3 separate regions of the Homo sapiens genome follow, and all the other regions are linked to region 3. The links are contacts of gene promoters, found by promoter capture Hi-C in blood cells and fetal thymus (Javierre and others, 2016). All regions are on one chromosome and are shown on one strand. The core of a region is centred on a gene start or on the middle of the fragment in contact, and the rest is flanking DNA. Distances in the headings are between cores, read along the strand shown. Region 1 has its middle 9.4 kb from the start of ARPC2. Region 2 overlaps ARPC2 (actin related protein 2/3 complex subunit 2). Region 3 holds the start of CXCR2 (C-X-C motif chemokine receptor 2).

Region 1 (4,275 bases), core at 1,285-3,784, 81 kb before region 3:
TCCGTGAAGAGCCCAGATGTTGGATTTATATAAAAAGACTTAACTGTCTTAAATATGCTGAAGGAAAAAAGAAAAGAGCTCATGGAAACCATGAAGAATAGCTAAGGAAAATCGGGAGCATGGTGTATATACAAGCATAGAATATCATAAAGAGATAGAAATAATAAAAAGGAACCAAATAAAAATTTTGGAGCTGAGAAGTACAATAGCTGAAGTGCAGAAATTACTAGAGGGGGTCAACAGCACATTTGAGCAGGCAGAAGAAAGAATCAGTGAACTTGAAGATAGGGCAGTTAAAATTACCCAGTTTGAGGAACAAAAATAAAACAATTGAACAGAGCTTATTGGACATGTGGGACACAAATTAAGCATATCAAAACACACGTTATGGGAGTTACAGAAAGAGGAGAGAGAGAGAAAGGGGAAGGAAAAATATTTAAACAAGTAATGGCCATAAAGTTCCCAGATGTGGTGAAAGATGTGAATCAATACATCTAATAAGCTTGATAAACTTAAAGCAGGATAAACTCAGAGATTCACACTGAGACATATTATAGTCAAAACTGTTGAAAGCCAGAAATAAAGAGAAAATCTTTAAAGTGAAAGAGAGAAGTGACTCATTTACAAGTCTCCTGCATAAGAACAACAGCTAATTTTTCATCAGAAACCATGAAGGCAGTGGAATGATGATATCTTTAAAGTGGTGAAATAAAAAAACCTGTCAACCAGGAATATTATAGCCTGTAAAATGTTCTTTCAAAACTTGAAGGAGCCAGGCATAGTGGCTCACACCTCTAATTCCAGCACTTTGGGAGGCTGAGGCGGGTGGATCACCTGAGGTCAGGAGTTCGAGACTAGCCTGTTCAACATGATGAAACCCCGTCTCTACGAAAAATACAAAAATTAGCCAGCTCTGGTGTCTTGTGCCTGTAATCGCAGCTACTCTTGAGGCTGAGACAGGAGAATTACTTGAACCTGAGAGGTGGAGGTTGCAGTGGGCCAAGATTGGGACACTGAACTCCAGCCTGGGTGAGAGAGGGAAAATCCATCTCAAAAAAAAAAAAAAAAAGACAGCCAAATACCACATATTCTTACTTGTAAGTGGGAGGTAAACATTGAGTATATATGGACACAAAGAAGGGAACAAGAGACACCGGGGCCTACTTGAGGGTGAAGGGTGGGAGGAGGGTGAGGATCAAAAAAACTACCTATTGAGTATTATGCTTATTACCCGCACATGTACCCTGAACCTAAATTAAAAGTAAAAAAAAAAAAAGAAAAAGAAAATAAATAGCATGATAGTAGAGGTAAGTTCTTTATTATCGATAATCATTTAAAATGTAAATGGATTAAACAATTAAAAGACAGAGATTGGCAAAATAAATTTTTTTTTTTTTTTGAGACAGAATCTTGCTCTGTCGCCCAGGCTGAAGTGCAGTGGTACGATCTTGGCTCACTGCAACCTCCGCCTCCCGGGTTCAAGCGAGTCTCCTGTCTCAGCCTCATGTGTAGCTCGGACTACAGGCACATGCTACCATGTCCAGCTATTTTTTTTTTTTTTTTTTTAGTAGAAATGGGGTTTCACCATGTTGGCCAGGCTGGTCTCAAACTCCTGACCTCAAGTGATCTGCCCGTCTTGGCCTCCTAAAGTGCTGGGATTATAGGCGTGAGTCACCACAACCTCAAGTGATCTGCCCGCCTCGGCCTCCTAAAGTGCTGGGATTACAGGCGTGAGCCACTGCACCTGGCCAGCAAAATGAAGTTTTAAAAAATGATCCAACTATATGCTTTTACTAGAGACTAACTTAAGATCCAAAGATGCAAATAGGTTGAAAATCAAAGAATAGAAAAATATATTCTGGGACTGGGCACAGTGGCTCATACCTGTAATCTCAGCACTTTGTCTTTTGTTTTTTTTGAGACAGAGTCTCGCTCTGTTGCCCAGGCTGGAGTGAAGTGGCTCACTGCAACCTCTGTCTCTGGGGTTCGAGTCATTCTCCTGCCCCAGCCTCCCGAGTAGCTGGGACTGCAGGTGGGTACCACCACACCCCAGCTAATTTTTTTGTATTTTAAGTAGAGATGGGGTTTCACCATGTTGGCCAGGCTAGTCTCGAGCTCCTAACCTCAAGTGATCCACCCACCTCAGCCTCCCAAAGTGCTGGTATTACAGGCATGAGCCACCATGCCTGGCCAGTCCCAGCACTTTGGAAGACCAAGGCAGGAAGATCACCTGAGCCAGGAGTTTGAGATCAGCCTAGGTAACATGGCAAGACCCTGTCTCTACTAAAAATAAAAAAAATTAGCCAAGAATGGTGGTGCACACCTGGTTCCAGCTACTGGAGAGGTTGAGGTGGAAGGATTGCTTTAGTCCGGGAATACTATGCAGCCATGGCTGCAGTGAGCTATGTTTGTGCCACTACATTCCAGTCTGGGTGGCAGGGTGAGACTGTGTCTCTGAAAAAAAAAAAAAAGATATTCTAGGCAAACTGTAACCAAAATAGAGCTGGAATGGCTATGCTAGTATCAGAAAGAATATATTTTAAGTCAAGAATTGTTATAAGAGACAAAAAGTGTTTATATTGATAATAGGATCAATTCATCAGGAAAATATAATAATTATAAACATATACACATCAAACAACAGAGTCCAAAATATATAAAGCAAATATGGACAGAATTAAAGGGAAAAATAGTTCTACGATAATAGTTGGAGACTTCAATGTCCTACTTTCAATAATAGAGTGAACACCTAGACAGAAGATTGGCAAGGAAATAGAGGACTTGAAGAACATCATAAACTAACTAGACTGCAGATAACACAGATCACTCCACATAACAACAGCAGAATATACTTCTCAAGTGTACATGGAGCAGTTTCTAGGATAGAACATATGCTAGGCCAGAAAATGATTCTCAATACATTAAAAAAATCAAAATCATACAAAGTATCCTCTTCAACCACAGTGGAATGAAGATACAAATAAATAGCAGAAGAAAAAAACTGGAAAATTCACAAAGACAGGGAAATTGAACAACACATTTTTAGCCAATTTAAAGAAGAATTAACACCAACTCTACTCAAACATTTCCAAAAAATGGAAGAGGAACGAACATTTTCTAACACATTCTATGAGGCCAGTATTACTCTGATATCCAGACAAAGATGCCATGAGAGAAGCGAAATTCAGGCCAATATCTCTATGAATAGACACAGGAATCCCCAACCAAATGCTAGCAAACTAAATCCAATAGCACTTTATAATAATTGGCTGGGTGTGGTGGCTCGCGCCTGTAATCCCATGACTTTGGGAGGTTGAGGCAGGAGGATCGCTAGAGGTCAGGAGTTTGAGACCAGCCTGGCCAACATGGGGAATGCTATCTCTACAAAAAAACAAAAATTAGCTGGTGTGATGGCATGTGCCTGTAATTCCAGCTATGGAGGCTGACACATGAGAATCACTTGAACCCTGGAGGCAGAGGTTGCAGTGAGCTGAGATTGCACCACTGTGCTCCAGCCTGGACAACCAGAATGAGACCCTGTCTCAAACAAACAAACAAACAAACAAACAAACAAACAGAATCACATACCATGTCTAAGTGGAATTTATCCCAGAAACCAAGAGTGGTTCAACACAAGGAAATCAATCAATGTGATATGCCACAATAATAAAATGACAAGAAAAAACATGGTCATCTCAATAGATGCAGAAAAAGCATTTGATAAAATTCAGCACCTTTTGATGATAAAAACTCAGAACACTGGAAATAGTAGGTGCTATGATTTGAATGTATGTGTCCCTCCAAAATTCATATGTTGAAACTCAACCCCAATGCAATAGAATTAAGATGTGGGTCCTGAAGGAGGTTATTAGTGCCCTCATAAAAGGGCTTGAGAGAACTAACTGGCTCCCCTTTCCCCTTTAATCTCTTCTGCTACGTGAGGACACCGTGTTGGTCTCCTTTTGCCCTTCTACCTTTTCCTGCTTATTGTGAGGATGCCTCAAGAAAATGCTATATATGGAACAGGCCCTCACCAAACACCAAATCTTCTGGCATTTTGGTGTTGGACTTCCCAGCCTCCAGAACTGTGAGAAGCAAATTTCTTTCTTCTTTTTGGTGGTGAGGAGACAGGGTCTCGCTCTGTTGCCCAGGCTGGAGTGCAGTGACAAGATCCTGGCTCACTGCTGCCTCAAACTCCTTGGCTCGAGCAGTCCTCCCACTTCAGCTTCCCAAGTAGCTGGGACTGTAGGTGCCTGCCATCATGCCTAGCTAATT
Region 2 (4,900 bases), core at 741-3,240, 100 kb before region 3:
ATGAAAAGTACAAAAAATTAGCCAGGTGTAGCGGTGCATGCCTGTAATCCCAGCTACTCAGGAGGCTGAGGCAGATGAACTGCTTGAACCCAGGAGTTGGAGGTTGCAGTGAGCTGAGCTGGCGCCACTGCAGTACAGCCTGGGGCAACAGAGTGAGACTCCACCTCAAAAAAAAAAAAGAGGCAGGGCTGCTTTAATAGCCATTTGTTTTCTTTCACTCTTTATCTGGTAAAGAAGTGTCAGCCACTATCTTTTACAAAACAATTCTTCATAAGCTTTATAAAAGCACTAGGTCTTCTTTCTGAAGCTTTTCTTTTTCCAGTAAACTAATCTGGATTCCAAATCCTCTAAATATTTCTTCTTTCTTTGAACTTATGAGAAAATCAATTGCATTTGAATAACTAAGGGAAGCAACCAATGGCTCTTGGTATTAAGACTAATTTTAGTTTTTATGCTAAAAAATTAAACAAGCTTTTGACCATATTCCTTTACAAATCATCTTTTATTATATAAGTTTTAAATAATTCAAAAGCTACTACTTTTCAGAAAGAAACAGCTATGGTTATATCTTCATTTAACAGATTAAGGAGAACCTAGTTTGTTAAAACTAAGAAATTTGAAAACTGATTCAGGAACTGAGTCATATTTCCTGCTTTGAGACCCAACCACAGCGTGCACAAACTGGTGTAATAGCATTTTCTTTCTTCCATAAATGGCTCTCCTCAGAGCAAATACAGTTCAACAGGAACCAAACCTGCTACTTAACTATTTAAAGAAGCCAGTGAACAAGGCATGGCCACCGAAGTTTCATAATGTCTGGACATCTTTCTTATTTCCCCTATGGTAGTTATAAAGAAGAGATATTTAAAGACGGTAGCTTTAAAGAGCTTTAATTAAAAATTTCAAAAGACAGCTATTTGTGCCTAAGCCTCCAGAATGAGAACCTGAGACTATAAAATTTAAACAAGCTAGAAGTTATCTATCTGCCTTGATAATATTACAAAAATAGAACAGAACCTAATTCTTGCAACAGCTATTTTTGTACTGATCAAGGAAAAGTATTCTTTGCTATGTTTTTGGAGAACTAAAGCTATTTTTGTTTCCATTGTTTTAAAGCAAGCAAGCAAGAGTCAAAACCTTTTCTAGGAAACACAATTCATTATAGGAATCAAGTCAAGAGCCCCTAGTTAGGTGAGCAAGTAGTCATGTGGGGGTGATTTAGTGCCATGGATCTTCCATGAATGGCAAACTGCCAATGAAAGGTGAGGAAACAAGAGTCCCAAGGAAAATGATGTGGATCTTACCTCATCAGCACCATGTGCCTGAAGTTCCTTGTAGAATTTCAAAGAAATACTGACCATCACTTTTGTTTTGTCTCCATTAGGATTTGAAATATGATAGAGGACCCCATCGAAATCTGTGAGGAAAGCAAATAAGATTGCGTAACAATTTGGGAATGGGAAATAATCTCTCCAAGCGCCTACCTTGCCGTAGGCCACAAGGAAGACCACTTTTAAGGAGGCATGTAAGTAAAATGGAACTTATTTTAAATCCATGTGACAAATCAGCAGAAACACTGGGATAGAATTGCTGAGCACTTGTTTCTTTGCTCTTTCTTAAAATTACAAAGCTATTCTTTCCTTAATCACAGCTTGGTGCTGAAATAATTGGATTTTACATGTATATAAGCAGAACGAACAGTATAATGAACTCTCATCTCCATCATGAGGCTTCAACGATTTTTTTTTTTTTGAGATAGAGTCTTACTCTGTCACCCAGGCTGGAGTGCAATGGTGTGGTCTCGGCTCACTGCAACCTCTGCCTCCCAGGTTCAAGAGATTCTCCTGTCTCAGCCTCCCGAGTAGCTGGGACTACAGGCATGTGCCACCACACCCAGCTAATTTTTGTATTTTTAGTACAGACGGGGTTTCACTGTGTTGGCCAGGCTGGTCTCGAACTCCTGACCTCATGATCTGCCCACCTCAGCCTCCCAAAGTGCTGGGATTACAGGCGTGAACCACCTTGCCCAGCCTCAACAATTATTAACACATGGACAATTCTTGTTTCATTTAGACATCCTCCTTCCCATTGATTTATTTTGAAGCAAATCCCAGATACAACACATAATTTCATCCATAAATACTCAGAATATATCTTTGGAAGATACAGAAGACTATTTGTTAAAAAACATAACCATGATACTAGTGTCATGCCTAAATTTTTAAAAACAATTTCTTAATATCAAATATTCAGTCAAGGCCGGGCACAGTGGCTCAAGCCTGTTAACCCAGCCTGTTAACTTTGGGAGGCCGAGGTGGGTGGATCACTTGAGGTCAGGAGTTCAAAACCAGCCTGGCCAACATGGTGAAACCCTGTCTCTACAAAAATTACAAAAAATTAGCTGGGTGTGGTGGCACATGCCTGTAATCCCAGCTACTTGGGAGGCTGAGACAGGAGAATCGCTTGAACCCGGGGGGTGGAGGTTGCAGTGAGCCAAGATCATGCCATTGCACTCCAGCCTGGGCGACAGAGCAAGACGCTGTCTGGAAAAAAAAAAAAAATTAGCCGGGTGTGGTGGTGGAGATCTGTAGTCCCAGCTACTTGAGAGGCGGAGGCAGGAGAATCGCTTGAACTCGGGGAGGTGGAGGCGGCAGTGAGCAGATTATCAACGCCACTGCACTCCAGCCTGGGTGACAGAGTGAGACTCAGTCTCAAAAAAACAAAACAAATATTCAGTCAAGTATTTAAATATTCTCTACTGTCTCAAAAAATTTTAAGCATTGTTGTCTTATTTGAATTAAGATGCAAACAATATCCACACATTGCATTTGGTTATCTTTTGAGTTGCTTCTAATCTATAGGACTCCCCTCTTTTTCGGTTCTATCTTTCTGCAGTACACAGGACTGACTCAGCCTGTGTAATTCCTGAAACTAGGAATAGGTTCCTGAAACTAGAATTAGGTGCTGAGTGCCATCACTTTATGGAGCTGTCATGGGAATCACGAAGGGATATCTGGCAATGCCAGTTAGTAGGAGGGTAAAGGGATGGTGCCTGGCCTCCAGGTAACAGCACTTCAGAGCTGCAAAAGTCTTCCAAGATCATCTTGTCGAGGACTCTTGTTGTAGAAAGGGTGGTTGTATTCCTCTGAGTTCATTCACCTAACAAGTAAATAGTACCAACACCTAATTCTTTATAGGGAACAGAAAGCAGCAACATCTCTCTCTGACTTGATGAACACATCTCTAGCTGTTCATGTTTCCCTACTACTCTAGTGCTAGGCAAACTAAGACTGACAGCTACTTGAAGATAATGTAATATTTCCAAATTAAAAAAAAAACACAACAAAAAAACCTCAGTTTTACCACAAAATTAAATCCAAACTTCTAATTTATCAGCAGGTAACTTTATATTGTCAGTCATCAGTGGATTAAATACATGAAATGGTCATCTATTATAAAGAGCTCAAAAAGACCTGATGAGGGACAGTATCCAAAATGTCAAAGCTTTTTTTTTTTTTTTTTTTTTTTGAGATGGAGTCTCACTGTCGCCCAGGCTGGAGTGCAGTGGCGCGATGTCTGCTCACTGCAAGCTCCGCCTCCTGGGTTCATGCCATTCTCCTGCCTCGGCCTCCGGAGTAGCTGGGACTACAGGTGCCCGCCACCATGCCCAGCTAATTTTTTGTATTTTTAGTACAGACAGGGTTTCATCATGTTAGCCAGGATAGTCTCGATCTCCTGACGTCGTGATCCGCCTGCCGTGGCCTCCCAAAGTGCTGGGATTACATGCATGAGCTACCGCACCCAATCCATGTCAAAGCTTATTTTAGGTACAATTTTCTTTTCTTGTCTCTCTCTTTTTTTTTTTGAGACAGTCTCACTGTATCGCCCAGGCTGGAGTGCAGTGGTGTGATCTCAGCTCACAGCAACTCCTGCCTCCCAGTTCAAGTGATTCTCCTGCCTCAGCCTTCCGAGTAGCTGGGATTACAGGTGCCCACCACCATGCCCGGCTAATTTTTGTATTTTTAGTAGAGGGGGTTTCACCATGTTTGCCAGGCTGTTCTTTAACTCTTGACATCAGGTGATCCACCTGCCTCGGACTCCCAAAGTGCTGGGATTACAGGCATGTGCCACTGCACCCAGCCTATTTCCTATTTTTCATATTGTACCTTCTCTTCAGAGGGCTGAGATAAAGATGCTTACCTGCAAATGTTACTTCTACTGCTTCCGGTTTGTTTCTGTAAACAACAAAAAAGGTCCTCAGTTAAGATGACTGTATTGCTGCTTACCTTCAAAGGGAACTGGAAAGGCACCTGAGCTTCACTTAAGATCAGACCATTCTGTATAAATTTTAGGTTACTGCCAATCAGAGTACACAATTCATTTTCTCATGGACCTGAACCTTTGGACTTGCTTTAAGTAGAGGATAAAAAAGGAAGGTCAGATAAAAAAGGAAGGCCAGCTATAGCTTTTGTTTTTCACCTGCTGTTGAATCTACTGCTTTGGTTGGTGCTCACTTTCAATTCTGAATTTCCTAACAACATGCTATATACCACAAAATGCCATCTTTTGGTCAATGCCTTCCCCACAGGACAGTGGTATTAGGAGTAAAACGTTCAGCAGGAAAATGGCTAAGTATAATGTAGAATGGTTTTAATATGCTTAAAGAGAAAGGATGATTTCGGGCCATAAACAAAACGGCAAGTTCTATTCCACTTCAAAACCCGTCTGTAAGCCTTCCTACTCATCTTTCTTTCTTCCTTTACATCACCAAAGTACTTACCACTCACCTTCAAGAAACCCTCTTTAGTTCTACCCTAGTTTTGTCTTGCTTTGTAAATTCCAGCTCGGAACTTAAAATAGACAGTGTAACACAAAATAACACTATGAAATCACTAAGAAT
Region 3 (4,430 bases), core at 1,646-4,145:
CTTCAATGTCTTTCACATGTCAAAGGGAGCAGTGCATTAAAATGACAGAGATGGACTAAAGCTTCTGGTGAGTCTGGTGGCGTTCCTCCCTGGACCTGATGCCTCTACTTCTTGGCCCCACTCCTGCCTCTTGTCTTTCCCCTCACTCCCCAACCATCTGCTCTGACCACAAGTCCATCTCTGGGTATTGATATTCTTTCTTGTTTCGCACACTTGGCATTGGGTCTGAGGACACCAACTCTGCAGCAGCTTACCACCCTTGGAGCCAAGACCCTCTAATTTGGAAAGAAAGCCTTTTGGTAAAAGGGAAGATTCCACCAAAGTCCAAATGCATTTTTAAAAACAATGTTAAGTGACCCTAAGAATGTATTTTATCAATTTGCTATTGATTACAAATGAATGAATTAATCCAGGCAGAGCCATGAACACTAATTCTGCTGTCTCACAAGTGCCCACCCCAGTGAACAACACCTCAATCCCCTCCATTATTCCTTACCCTATCTCTTGCTCCATGCATCCCAGGGCCCAGAGGGGACTCAATCCCTGTGGCAGACGCACTTAAATTGCCTGCCTACCCCAAAGAAAGAATCTTTGAGTCCAACTGTTCAGCAAATGTTTCTTAGTCTTTGTCACCTCTCTTTCCCAAGCTGGGGAAGAATGCAATGCCACCTGGCCAGTTGATGCTAAAACCAGATAGAGGCTTATTACATATGGAGAGAGGCAGATGACACCAGGGCTAGCTGAGCAATTCTGGGCAAGTGACTTTTCCTTTCTGAGTCTCAGTTTACTCATCTGTAAAATGGGGCCAATACAGAATCCAACTCATGGGGTTGTGGTGAGGATGAAATGAGGGATTGCTTGTAAATCACGTAAAACATACATAAAGTACAATGTTAACCTTTATTGTTGTGATCATTATTACTGGAATAGTTTATTCACTGATAACATGCTGCCTCTCTCACTACATCCCCAGTCAAGGGAAAGCAGTCGGCAGTGGGTCTGCTTTCAAGGCTGACTTTGATGACATCTAATTTACTTTGACCTGGATATTAATTGTCATATTAGCTGTAATGTTGAGTGTCTACCAGGTTCTAGCTTCTGGGCAAAGTGCTTTCCAGAATTTGTATCAATTAATCCTCAGGATAACCTCACGAAGCAGGCACTTTCTGGAAGAGGAAATGAAGACTCTGAGAGGTTAAGCAACATACCTAGAGTGACACAGCTGAACTAGGTTTTCAGTTTAAAAAACTTCTAAAAATCTGCTCTCAAATCCTATCTCCTGTTCACTGTAATAAGGAGCAGGATCCCAGCCTAAAGTTTCTGAGCTCCATTAGGTACCTCCCTGTGTCCCAGAAAGTCAGATACAAAGGATGTAGAGAGGGGAGCCCAGATTTGACATTTCCCAGTCAGCCTCCTTCTTCATGCTCCTTAGGTCAATTTCATTTCCATGGAGATCACTGCGGTTATATGCAGGGTGGAGTGAATTAAAAAACTGGCTTCTGGTGCGGTGGCTCATGCCTGTAATCCCAGCACTTTGGGAGGCTGAGGTGAGTGGATCACTCGAGGCCAGGAGTTACAGAACAGCCTGGCCAACATGGTGAAACCCCGCCTCTATTAAAAATGCAAAAATTAGCCAGGCGTGGCAGCGCACGCCTGTAATCCCAGCTACTCCAGAGGCTGAGGCATAAGAATTGCTTGAACTCGGGAGGCAGAAGTTGCAGTGAGCCGAGATTGTGCCATTGCATTCCAGCCTGGGCGACAGAGCAAAACCCTGTCTCAAACAAAAACAAAACAAAAACCTGGCTTCTAATCCTGCTTGGAGAAGTCATTCTTTCTGGGCCTTGTTGTGTGCCTTTGGAAAACGGGAGCTTCTTCTAATTCTATTCTGTTCAGCATGCTAGCTACTAGCCATGTGTAGCTATTTAAATTAAAATTAATTAAAATAAAGGCCAGGCAAGGTGGCCCATGCCTGTAATCCCAGCACTTTGGGAGGCCGAGGTGGGCGGATCGCTTGAGCCCAGGAGTTTGAGATCAGCCTGGGCAACATGACGAAACCCTGTCTTTACAAAAACAAAAACAAAACAAACAAACAAACAAAACCCAAAAAATTAGCTGAGTGTAGCGGCACATGCCTGTAGCTGCAGCTACTTGGGAGGCTGAGGTGGGAGAATCACCTAGACCTGTAGGTTGAGGTTGCAATGAGCCAAGATCATGCCACAGCACTCCAGCCTGGGCATTGGAGTGAGAGCCTGTCTCAAAAAAGAAAAAATAAAATAAAATAAAATGAAATAAAAATTGAGATCCGCAGTCACACTAGTCACATTTCAAGTGCTCCGTGGCCACGTGTGACTAGTGGCTACCATACTGGGCAGGGCAGGTCTAGGACATTTCTATTATTGCAGAAAATTCTTTTGTGCAACACTGTCTAGGTGAAGACTTAGTTGTCTTTAGCTCTAAGCTTCTACACTTCATCACCCCAGTTCTCAGGGGCCTCAGAGGAGGCTGAAGTTTCCAGATCTCTTCCATTAGAAATATGTTGCCAGCATCTCAGACTGAACAAGTCACCTACCTGCTGTTATTGGAGTGGCCACCGATGTCTTCACTGTGCCTCAAGGTTGGGTGGTAGTCAGAGCTGTTAGACAGGAAAAAAAAGATGAAACAACCTTGACGATGAAACTTCTGACCTGGGTTGCAAGGGGGAAATCCAGGATGCCCTCCTGGGGAGGTATTCCCACAGAGGAACAATGAGGTCTGTCCTGGGACTTTGGCCCAGGACAGGTGCCACTTAGTGATTCTGGGATGAGTGCTGGGGATTTTCACATCTTCCTGTCTGATGGCTTCTGGAGGAGCCTACCAGTCTGAAGGTGGAGATTTGTCTATCCACCTTCTGTCTCTGAATGTTTTGAACCTGCACTTCCTTTTTTAACAAGGAAGATGCAGGCATCCCAGCCCCCGCCAACGGACTTGTCTGAACTCGCACGCAGTTTCTTCCTTCTTTCCGGGGTCAGAGTGAGAAGCGTCCCTCCTTCTGTTTCTGTTGAATCCCCGCACCTGACTGTGGGACCCACTGCCTCTCTGGTCCTTGAGGATCCTGCTTTCTCTCCCCTCTGTCCTGGCTCTTTCCCTTCTACCACATCTTACTTATGGCTTTATCATGCTCCCTCTGTCCTAGCACCCTTCAGCCACCACAGCTGCTCTCTCCACTTCCTCACCTCCCCTCTGCTGCTCAACAAAGACACTGCAACTGGCTTCCTTCCTACTGCTCCACTGAAATAACTTTCGCCAAGGTTCCCAATGACCTCTGGGTTACTAAACCCAGCAAATCCATTAAAAAAAAAAACAAAAACAAATTGCTTTCTTTCCCCCCAAGACAACAGATTGGAGGCAGCATTAGCATGCCTCTCCCATCTGGAAGGACAGAATAGCGTGTAGAGATTCACACTATAATTTTTTTTTCTCCAGGAACGAATGCAGGAACTGAACAGGAAAGCTGAAAGAATCCACAGAACTTTTGAAAGAAGTGGCAGGCTGCAGCCTACTCTGTGAGACAGGCAAAAACTCACCTCTAGGCAGAATAGCACTGTACCCAGGAAGGAGAAAACGGCTGCATATTCTCAGCTATCACCACTGCTTACAACACCCTGGCTAACCAGAAGTCCTGCGTCTGTCCACGTGATAAGTTCACTATAATTATAACCAGCATTTGAGAAAGTCAATACTCTAAGTCTATCTACAACCAAGGAATCTTGCAGAGTTTGCATCACTCCCCTCCCACTTCTGTCAGAGATGGTGCTGGTATTCACTGCTGGGAGTCTTGAAGACAGGTAACACCACTGGATCCCTTGCAGACATTCCCTAGCACCAGCCCAGAGTCTGGTAGGCCCACTGGGTGGCTAGACCCAGAAGAGCACTGTAGTCTGGCTTCCAGGAAGTCCCATTCCTAGAGGAAGGGGAAGAACATCACATCAAGGGAATACCCTGTGGAACAAAAGAATCTGAATGGCAGGGCTTGAGTCCCAGATCTTTTCACTGGTGGGAAGTTTCCTATTGCAGAGACAATTGCTGTGCTGGGCAGAGTGGGGGAAAGTTTGCACCTCTACCCAATAGGCAGGCAGCCTCTGGTATTGTGAAGGGTCTTAGAGAAGGGATCCTTGTTCCCCCTGGTACGCCACTGCAGACAGAGCTGGGGCTTCTCCCAAAGGAACGCAGCATTGATGCACCTATAGACAGCCTTCCTGGAACAAATCAGGGTGATTGCATCCCCACGGGAGGAGCACTCCCCAGATTCAGGTTTGCATGACAGGCAGTCACAATTCCTCTCTACTTGGAACATCAACATTTCTACAGATGAAAATAACTGCCTGTCTGATCTGAATAGCTGGAACACTGGGAAAGGAGTGAAGCTGGGAGGTGGATAGCTTTCCAGCTGG

The links. The method cuts DNA at HindIII sites, captures the fragments that hold promoters and counts their contacts. A CHiCAGO score of 5 or more calls a contact.
Region 1: a fragment that was not itself captured here is called in contact with the fragment with the promoter of CXCR2 in region 3 in 1 of 17 cell types (neutrophils); the score reaches 6.6 in neutrophils.
Region 2: a contact is called between a fragment that was not itself captured here and the fragment with the promoter of CXCR2 in region 3, in 1 of 17 cell types (neutrophils). The highest score is 9.1, in neutrophils.

Annotation. Positions count from the first base shown.
Region 1 is chr2:218,205,691-218,209,965 of GRCh38, reverse strand. No RefSeq gene overlaps it. Among named protein-coding and RNA genes, the nearest start is that of ARPC2, 9.4 kb to the left of the region's middle. The HindIII fragment of the contact is 4,060 bases long and covers 505-4,275 here.
Region 2 is chr2:218,225,255-218,230,154 of GRCh38, reverse strand. ARPC2 (actin related protein 2/3 complex subunit 2) reads right to left here. Exons shown (of 11, transcript NM_152862.3): 3 at 4,201-4,235; 4 at 1,305-1,417. Among named protein-coding and RNA genes, the nearest start is that of ARPC2, 11 kb to the right of the region's middle. The HindIII fragment of the contact is 3,033 bases long and covers 474-3,506 here.
Region 3 is chr2:218,124,493-218,128,922 of GRCh38, reverse strand. CXCR2 (C-X-C motif chemokine receptor 2) reads right to left here and starts at 2,895. Exons shown (of 3, transcript NM_001557.4): 1 at 2,570-2,895. The HindIII fragment of the contact is 2,247 bases long and covers 2,461-4,430 here.